3 separate regions of the Homo sapiens genome follow, and regions 2 and 3 are each linked to region 1. The links are contacts of gene promoters, found by promoter capture Hi-C in blood cells and fetal thymus (Javierre and others, 2016). All regions are on one chromosome and are shown on one strand. The core of a region is centred on a gene start or on the middle of the fragment in contact, and the rest is flanking DNA. Distances in the headings are between cores, read along the strand shown.

Region 1 (3,333 bases), core at 604-3,103:
GCTCTGGAAGCGCAGGTCCGTCTTAAAGTCCTGCGCGATCTCGCGTACCAGCCGCTGGAAGGGCAGCTTGCGGATCAGCAGCTCCGTGGACTTCTGGTAGCGCCGGATCTCCCGCAGGGCTACGGTGCCGGGCCGGTAGCGGTGCGGCTTCTTCACCCCGCCCGTGGCCGGCGCGCTCTTGCGGGCCGCCTTGGTGGCCAGCTGCTTCCTCGGGGCCTTGCCGCCGGTCGACTTGCGAGCAGTCTGCTTAGTACGGGCCATAGCGAACCAAAACACAGGCTTACCAGCGCAGCGGCGGGGAGAAAAACGAGCTCCTAGCCCCGCCGCAGCCGTCTTTATAAGCACAGTCTTTTCCCGATTGGGCGGAACAATAATTGAAAATCCCGCGCTGGCTGTCCATTGGCTGTGACGTCACCCGTCCTAAAGTCACCGGTTGGCTTGGGCAGATTCCTCCCTAATCCCGCCCACCCCGCCTCACTTTCTACTTACCAGTTGGCGAAGTTTCGCAAGCTTGTTTTTCCCCTTTCCTTCAGGGTGAAAGTCATTTTCCATTGCAGCTTTGTCAGATTGTTCCCTTTCCGCCCTTCGCTTCCTTAGAACACACTGCCCGCAATACCCCCCCTTTCTTGCTGCGCCCTACAGCTCCCGCGTGGAACCTCATTCTTCCATTTGCCCCCCGCCCCCAGTTGCTACTTGGCGGATCGTTTTTCGCCTGTCGGGTGCCTTTTGGGTGGGAGAGGTGCCCGCCCCCAGGACGCAAGATTCCGCCTCCGAGGCCCTTACTCTCCGCCGCCAGGGCGCTTTGGAAAACAAAACAGAAACTAAGACTTAAGTCAGCTCAGTGAAGCCAAGACCCAGCTCCGCCACACTAGCGAGCACTACCCGCTCAGGGCCCTCCCCATCGGGGGTGGGGACGAGGAGCACGTCCCGCTGGTGCCAGACTAGGTCTAAGTGTCCGGCCATAGCCTGCGGAAACCACTAGGGAAGCGCGCGCTCCGCGCGCAACACTTCAGCGCGTTGGGTACTGCCCGCGGCGCTGGTGTTTGTGACTGTGTGGAGCGGACCGTGGCGGCGCCCAGGACGTTTGGTGCCTGCACCTGCCCTGGGAAGTCCTAGGACTGGGGACCCACTCATCGAAGAGCCAAGGCAGTTACGTGCTCCAGATGGAAGACGGCGCGCACACACACACACCCCGCCCCGCCCCGCCCCGTCCCGTCCCGTCCCGTCCCGTCCCGTCCCGTCAGCTCCAGGTTCGCTATTCACTACTGAGGAACGCTGGACTGAGAGTGGCCAGCATTAACAACTCTTTTATTTGAAAACGTGGGTGGCTCTGAAAAGAGCCTTTTGAGTTCACAGGTGCCCCTTCGAGACGCGGGCCGGGCTGGGCCCACTTGGGCCGGACGTCAGCCTCACTTGCCCTTTGCCTTGTGGTGACTCTCCGTCTTCTTAGGGAGCAGTACGGCCTGGATGTTAGGCAAGACGCCGCCCTGGGCGATGGTGACTTTGCCCAGCAGCTTGTTCAGTTCCTCGTCGTTGCGGATGGCCAGCTGGAGGTGACGAGGGATGATGCGCGTCTTCTTGTTGTCCCGAGCCGCGTTGCCCGCCAGCTCCAGGATCTCGGCGGTCAGATACTCGAGGACCGCAGCCATGTAGACGGGCGCGCCGGCCCCCACTCGCTCCGCGTAGTTGCCTTTGCGCAGCAAGCGATGCACTCGCCCTACCGGGAACTGAAGGCCAGCGCGGGACGAGCGCGACTTGGCCTTGGCGCGGGCCTTGCCTCCTTGCTTGCCACGACCAGACATGACAGCGATAGTAGTCACCGAGAGAAACTCCTGCCTGGCGATCGGGAAAGTCGCCGAAAACGCCGCTGCTTCACCTTTTTATAGACAGAACGGCGATTGTCCACGGAGCACTTTGATTGGCTCAAGCAAATTTTGTCCCGATAGCCAATAGGATAGCTCAGCCAGAATCCACTCATTTACATAATCTCGTCTCCCTCGCATTGCGCGCCGCGGAAAACTCGCGAACCATAACGCAGCGTCATGCGCACAGCCTCTGTAAGTACACAGTCGTTTCCGGTAGACCCCGAGCCTACCGCTCTGCTTGCGTTCTCGGGGGTCGGTGTCGGTCTTGGGTCTGGCCATGCCTGAGCCTGCAAAGTTCGCGCCGGCTCCCAAGAAGGGCTCCAAGAAAGCCGTCACCAAAGCCCAGAAGAAAGACGGCAAGAAGCGCAAGCGCAGCCGCAAGGAGAGCTACTCCATCTACGTGTACAAGGTGCTGAAGCGGGTCCACCCCGACACCGGCATCTGGTGCAAGGCCATGGGCATCATGAACTCCTTCCTCAACGACATCTTCGAGCGCATCGCGGGAGAGGCGTCCCGCCTGGCGCACTACAACAAGCGCTCCACCATCACGTCCCGGAGATCCAGACGGCCGTGCGCCTGCTGCTGCCCGGCGAGCTGGCCAAGCACGCCGTGTCCGAGGGCACCAAGGCGGTCACCAAGTACGCCAGCTCCAAGTGAGTCCCTGCCGGGACCTGGCGCTCGCTCGCTCCCTCCCTCCCTCCCTCCGCGGGTCGCCGGCTGCTTTGTCTCCAAAGGCTCTTTTCAGGGCCACTTAACCCCGTTAGTGAAATAAGCTGTTTTCCCACTGCTTACTGTGAGTTCTACTTAGGGGTTTTCCCTCAGCACCTATCCCTTTTCCTGCAGATGATGGGAGAGGAATATAAGATAAAGCTATAAGATGTAGCTTGGTCGAGAACTACCTTGTAGTGACAGGGTCATGTGCACATAATTTGCCTTTTCCAAAGTGAGACGATATGCTACGGGTGCGGTCAATGTAAATCTGCTCAGGAGAGTCAAGGGAAAAAGTGTTAACTGCATATTGAGCTCGCAAAATTGTGTAGTAACCTGAAAATATTCCTAATAGTTTTGCGACCAAGCCTCACCATATAAACTTTCCTTCCGCACCTGTAGACCTCCATTCTGTGGTTGAAGCAATTTTTGGTTTATATAGCTCTCTTGTCTCAATTTGGTATTCCTTTCAGGTACTGTGAGTCTATAGGTATTTATTTCTGGGTTTCAAGACGTTAAATGCCATCAGAATTGAGTAATGCAAAGGCTGCTGTCATGGATAGTAAAGCTTTTTAGTCAAGTGCTGATAGACAATTCCCCATTGTTATCGTTGGGTATTTTACAATTTTCTGGGCAAGAAATGTAATGAAAAATTAAGTAAGTTTTAAAGGCCTTCGTCTTTGAGACTGGATACCTAAAACAATAGTGTTTCCTAAACAGTTAAAACTTATTTAACCCTGAAGCTTTCGAGACACACAAA
Region 2 (3,333 bases), core at 440-2,939, 240 kb after region 1:
AGGTTATTAGGAACAGTTCTTAGAGAAGGCAAGATTTGGATGGACCACAAAAGAATGAATAGAATTTGGGGAAGGAGTTCAGCCAGGAGCAGCAAAAGCAAAGATGTAGAAATATGCAGGAAGTAATAAACAGTTTGACCTGTAGAGAGTGAGTATGAAACAGAATTAGATAAAATTGAATTGGTAAACAAAAAACAGTTTACAAGCTTTATGAAGAGGCTTGTAAGAATTTATACCTGCTGAGATAAGCAAAGAGATCCAGTATAGGATCTTATGTAGAAAGTTGAGGTGAGGAAGGCAGTATTTTAGGAAATGTAACCTAGTAAGGATGCTTTAGAGGTGAAAAAACAGGTCAGAGAGACTTGTAGACTTACAGTGATAGTAGTAAAAATGTACAGCAAGGGGCTGAACTGAAAAACATTTCAAAGGGAGAAGAATTAGACGACAGGCTGGATATAAAGATAGAATAAATCAGAGGTAATCCCATGTTTCCTGAGAAATGACAAAGTATGATGTCACTGACAAGTAATTTAGGACTACGAGTCCTTTAGGAAATAGCCATTTCTAAGCCACTTATAAGAAGCACATTTCCCTGTTAATAGGGCCCTATATTCTAAAGCTTAGCTTCTTTCTTTCCCAGCTACAGTTCCACTTTATTCTATAAAATAATGCCAACCTGTTATATTGGAAACAACTCAGGTTTTGGACCCAGACTGGCTTGGCTTATATCCTACCTCTCCTTACCAAAGTTTCTTTGGGAAAATTACTTGATTTGCCCAAGTCTTGGGGATTATGATTTCAAACTTTCAGACTGTTACGATGATTCAATGAGATATGTAAAATGCTTCACATGTAATAGGTGCTTTGTAAATGTTAGTTCCCTTCCTCTAAGCATGATTTTTTTTTTACACATAGTGCAAACAAAAGAAAGAAGTCTACCTGTGGGTGCTCTAGTTATACCAGGGTCTTTACTGGGACTTATTGTTGTTGGGTTTTGGATCAGAACCTAAAGTCGCATTCTTTTTAATCACTAAATAGTATCCTTTGTAAAGATGTATCCTAATCTATTTAACTTGGCCTTTAAACAACACTACTAATAGTATTTTATAGTTGTTTTGTGGGCCTAATAGAAATGTCCTGATATTTACCACAAAAAATGAGTTTTCTGCCTCTTATTAAATAAAAAACAAAATTGTGTCCCGTAACTAAATTTAAATTTCTTATATTTCTTTATCATTTGATTTTTCCCTTGAAAACAGTAGAACCAGACTTAATCACTAGCCAGTTTTACTGTCTTTATTTGTATCTCTCTACATGTGGAAAGCAATTAGAAAAAGTTCTTGTAATAACTTGTCTGAAACTTTATTTTTGTGTTCACTTTAAAAGAAAAATAGTCACTTTAAAAATATAAATTCTATTTGTGATCCACTTTTTATTTTTAGAACTTATCTTTTGAAGGTTTTCTTGTCTAGGGTATTGGGATTTTACAGTGAGCAGTTGATTTGGAGTCCCCCATCATAAACGACTTATTTGGCAACATAACTTAAATAGTCTATAAAGGGATCTTTTGTTTGATAGTAAGTGGATGTCAGGGGCCTGACTTCTAGAGGGGTTATAGCATTCCTTGGCTTGACCTTAGATGATAATACGTCATGAAGCAATGAAATGAGGTTTGTGAGTAGAGATGGGGTTTGCTTTATTGAATAGTATCATGACAAGAAAAAAAAGCATGTATTGCTAAAAGTTAACTTAAAAATTGCTGCCATTCTAACCATTATTTTGTAGGCTAATGAAAATTTCATTTAGAAAGAATTTCACTAGAACCAAAGTGAAATTTACTACCACTGAAACATATACATATCCTCAGAAGAGATTTATTAATTAGTAATGAAGATTTGCCATACCATGAAGAAAAGCATCTTTAGAAAGTGAGCAATTCCACCCTTACCATCCTCCCTATACCCTGCCCCCCATGCCCAGCCTGTGTTGTCATATCACAGTTTTTCATTTGGAGAGAGGAACCAGTCTATTTTGTATTTTTTCCTGACCTTTCATAAAGATCTCAAATCATCCTGTTAATGATACATAATAAGGACTCAATAAATATTTATTAGAAAAATGAGGAGGAAGAGCTCTATTTGAAGCAGTATAGAGTAGTGGCTAAGAGCTTGGGCCTTTGATGGCTTGGGTTTGAAAATAATTCCTAACCACTCTAAAACTCAGTCCTTTTGTCTATAAAGGGGGAAAAATAATAGTACTTACCTCAGAATTGTTGTGAGAGTGCAATGAGCTAATACATGTAAAACACTTATGGTACTTGGTACTTACAGCTTTCAAGAAATATTAACTACCAACATTAAGAGTATTATTATTTGATGGTACATTTAATTTTCTTAATGGCATCCAAGACATGTTTTTTAGTTCAGTGATAGCCTTGTATCTCTCTGATTTCAGAAAAGTGTTTGGTTTTTTTGTGTGTGTGTTTTGTTTTGTTTTGCCACTCATTAAAATTATAAGAAAAGTGGTTGGGACACATTGAACTGACTGACAATTTTACTTTGATTAATTAAATGTAAAAATGATCCTTTTACTCTAAAACAACATTTAGCCAGTATTTTAGAAATAGTATTGATCAGCAGAAGATCTACTGCAAAGCTCAATTTTATGTTGACTAGTCATTAAGAAAAGGAATACTGGCTCCGATGTATTTACCAGTCAGTAGAATTGGGTCTTGTCTGCTTTCTATCATTTTTCCCTGATAAGCTTTTTATATTCCCACAACACTGTTCTCTCAAACTGTTAGGCTCATTTTTGTCAGATCAGCATGTGGAAGTCTTCTGCCAATTCCATCTTACTGTCCTAATCTGTTGGTTTATTTTGTTATTCTCTGACTTTACTACATTAATATAGTAGATAACAAAGAAGGGATCCTGTTCTTTAGGTTAAACTAAAACAAAAAAAAAGACGGAGACTATCTTTATTACCAAGACCAACTGTAATCTGTATAATAGTTTGAAATGTGTGTATGTCATAATGATTTCTTCTTGCTGTGCTGCTTTATCATAGTTTTGATAGAAGAAAACAGAAAAGTAAAAAAAGATTTAGCCAGAAACAATGGAAGAATCTCTAAATATCAGAAAAGAAGAATGGTTTTCTCGTTGATGTCTTATAAATGAATGTTAGTTCCTTTAGGAAACTTGATCTCCAAAGACACTATTTTTGCTTTGCTTTGCTTTGCTTTTCCTATTCCTTGATTACGCCCACACAAATGTTAGAGTTCAGTGCAAGGTTTTCGAATCCTGTCTTCTTAAGTAGATGACAATTTTCTGTTTT
Region 3 (3,333 bases), core at 332-2,831, 200 kb after region 1:
CACTCTAGCCTGGGCAACAGAGCAAGATTCTGTCTCAAAAAATAATAATAATGATAATAATAATAATAAATAAAAATAAAGTTCAAGGATATGTAGCAAAGAAAATCACTTACAACAACCCAACATTATAGTCTGTCTATAAAATAAACACATCTACTCCTTCCAACTTCATAAGGGTGAAAAATAAGAGTTTAAAATATGAAGCAGAAACAAGATGTATTAGTTACCTGTGAAAATAGCTCTCTGATTGTGTGCCTTTAAATTGGCAGGGGAAAAAAAGAAACTCAGTTTTAAAACAGAAAACTTATATATCACTATGTCTATATACTTGTTATAGCCAACGTCCCTAAACAGAAAATTGTTCAGTGGTGCAAGGGAATTAGTAATAATACCAATAATTATTAGATTCAGATTTCAAATCCCATATGAAAATAAACAATATTATTTGTTCTTAAACTAAATTTTTTTTTTTTTTTGAGATGGAATCTTGCTCTGTCACCCAGGCTAGAGTGCAGTGGCATGATCTCACCTCACTACAACCCCCGCCTTCCAGGTTCAAGCGATTGTCATGCCTCAGCCTCCCAAGTAGCTGAGATTACAGGTGTGTGCCACCGTGACCGGCTAATTTTTTTGTATTTTTAGTAGAAATAGGGTTTCACCATGTTGGCCACGCTGGTCTCGAACTCCTGACCTCTAGTGATCTGTCCAACTCAGCTTCCCAAAATGCTGAGATTACAGGTGTGAGCCACCGTGTCCAGCCAGAAAACCTTTGTGGAGGTGCTGGGGATTGACCCAGGGCCTCATGCATGCTAAGCGTGCGCCCTACCACTGATCTACACCCCCTTTAATTCTTAACATCAGAAATATTATTCAACAGACACATATCAGAGTTGAGGGAAATTATTGGAAAATTGAGACCAAAAAAAGCATACAGAAAGTTAATTTATTTTCTAGACAGAACTCTGCTAGTATTAGAATCAAATACTTTTAATTAGATAGTAATTTACTTGCTTTCTTGTAACTTATGGCCATCTTCTCTAGTCTGTTTGTTACAGTCCTACACATATTAAATAGCAAAAACAAACTAATTATATATTTTGCATGATCAGTATGTTACAACATTAAGATCAGACTAATAATACAAGTCACCTACTCCATTGCCAATTTTTATACTCCCTGCAATCTTACAGCACATCCTCATATGAACAAAAAGCCTTTATATTTATCTTACAGAGGATATAAACATCAATTTATAAAAAAGAGACACAAGCCTTATATAGTTAAAAGTAATATAATTAACATGATTACAAAAACATTTCTAATAAAGCAGAGGAAATAATTATATTGCTTGTAGTTCTAGTAAGAGTTTATTGAACCATTAAAAATAATTTCAAAACAATAAAATACAAAGGCAAATATCCAAATAGTTTTGTATGGATCTAGCATTCACTTTTCCTTGATCCAACCTAGTTTTAATTCCTATGGCCTACAGGATGGCTTAGATAAGGAAGAAGCTAAAAATTGGCTGTTACAGAGTTGCAGTTGTGTGGCATATGGGTGATCTACGTAACTGAAGTTGAAGGGAGAAATGCAATCTTCCCCCAAAACCTGCTTTTCCTTCAGTCCACTGTCACAATCCTGAGTCCAGCTACTCTCTCAACATCTCCATCTCCCTGGCTAAAACCTCCCATCTCTCATCTGGGTTGTTGTAAAGCCTCCTAACTAACCTCACTTCTTTTGCCTTTGCCTGCTATGATTAATTCCCAACCCAGTAGCCAGACTGATCCTCTCCTCAAAGCTCTCCAGTGGCATTTTTTTTTTTTTTTTTTTTTGAGACAGAGTCTTGCTCTGTCACCCAGGCTGGAGTACAGTGGGGCGATCTCGGCTCACTGCAACCTCCACCTCCCGGGTTCAAGTGATTCTCCTTCCTCAGCCTCCTGAGTTGCTGGGACTACAGGCGCATGCAACCACACCTGGCTAATTTTTTTTTTTTTTTTAGTAGAGACGGGGTTCCACCATGTTGGCCAGGATGGTCTCAATCTCCTAACCTCGTGATCCACCCGCCTCGTCCTCCCAAAGTGCTGGGATTATAGGCGTTAGCCACCACGTCTGGCCTCCAGTGGCATCCTTATTCAAAATAAAAGTAAATATCCTAGGGTGGGCATGGTGGCTCACGCCTGTAATCCCAGCACTTTGGGAGGCTGAGGCGGGCAGATCACTTGAGGTCAGGAGTCCAAGACCAGCCTGGCTAACATGGCGAAACCCCATCTCTACTAAAAATACAAAAATTAATTGGACATGGTGGCAGGTGCCTGTAATCCCAGCTACTGGGGAGGCTAAGGCAGGAGCATTGCTTGAACCCGGGAGGCGGAGATTGCAGTGAGCCAAGATCATGCCACTGCACTCTAGCCTGGGCGACAGAGCACAGCTCTGTCTTGGAAAAAAAACAAAGTCAATATCCTCACAACTAGGTCCTACACCAACTATTCCCCATTTTCCATCTTCCGCTGTCAATCACTCAGCTACCCTGGCTGCTTTGCTGTCTTATGAACAGCCCACTCCCACCTCAGGGATTTAGCAATTGCTCTTTCCTTTATCCAAAAAACTTTCATCTGGATTACATGTATCTTATTCCTTTAACATCCTTCAGGTTTTTGCTCAATGTTCATTTTTCAGCAAATGATTCCCTAACCACCACATTTATAACTGCAAACCTTATGCATCTCAACACTCCCCCCAACCTCCTTCTTTAAACTTGTTTTTGCTCTATAGAACTTACTACCACATGATTACTATATATTATGCTTATTTTGTGTACTGTCTGATTGTCCTCACTAGATTGTAAGAGAGATTAGGGATTTTTGTCTGTTTTTTTCAATCCCATATTTCCATGGCTAGCACCTAATAGGTATTCAACAAATGCTTGTTGAATATATGAACATCCTCTATAAATCCTCTAGTAACCAGTGTCAAGAACTACATGCCTATGTAGGTGACCCAAACACTTCCTCTAAGAACTGTATAGAAAAATAATTTCAGGCCAGGCGTGGTGGCTTATGCCTATAATCCCAGCACTTTGGGAAGCCGAGGCGGGTGGATCACGAGGTCAAGAGATCAAGACCATCCTGGCCAACATGGTGAAACCACATCTCTACTAAAAATACAAAAATTAGCTGGGCATGGTGGTGCGTCCCTGTAGTCCCAGCTACTCGGGAGGCTGAGGCAGGAAAATCGCTTGAATCTGGGAGGCAGAGGTTGTAGTAAGACAAGATCGCGCTCCAGCGTGCACTCCAGCCTGGCGACAGAGCGAGACTACGTTTAAAAAAAAAAATT

Evidence for each region. Contacts are between HindIII fragments. The CHiCAGO score rates a contact against its expected background, and 5 or more counts as called.
Region 2: a fragment that was not itself captured here is called in contact with the fragment with the promoter of H2AC18 in region 1 in 2 of 17 cell types (naive B cells and M0 macrophages); the score reaches 6.6 in naive B cells.
Region 3: a fragment that was not itself captured here is called in contact with the fragment with the promoter of H2AC18 in region 1 in 5 of 17 cell types (naive CD8 T cells, naive CD4 T cells, naive B cells and 2 more); the score reaches 7.2 in naive CD8 T cells.

Annotation. Positions count from the first base shown.
Region 1 is chr1:149,840,897-149,844,229 of GRCh38, forward strand. It overlaps H2AC18 (H2A clustered histone 18), which reads right to left and starts at 1,854. Exons shown (of 1, transcript NM_003516.3): 1 at 1,322-1,854. The coding sequence starts at 1,802. The coding sequence ends at 1,410. H3C14 (H3 clustered histone 14) reads right to left here and starts at 312. Exons shown (of 1, transcript NM_021059.3): 1 at 1-312. The coding sequence starts at 261. It also overlaps the pseudogene H2BC19P. RefSeq lists an enhancer at 1-153. The HindIII fragment of the contact is 2,631 bases long and covers 509-3,139 here.
Region 2 is chr1:150,084,018-150,087,350 of GRCh38, forward strand. All of the region lies in intron 10 of VPS45 (vacuolar protein sorting 45 homolog), which reads left to right. Among named protein-coding and RNA genes, the nearest start is that of VPS45, 18 kb to the left of the region's middle. The HindIII fragment of the contact is 2,144 bases long and covers 618-2,761 here.
Region 3 is chr1:150,044,634-150,047,966 of GRCh38, forward strand. The region is part of intron 1 of LOC124904413 (a long non-coding RNA gene); the gene reads left to right. It also overlaps a transcript of OTUD7B not described here. Among named protein-coding and RNA genes, the nearest start is that of VPS45, 21 kb to the right of the region's middle. The HindIII fragment of the contact is 5,915 bases long and covers 1-3,333 here.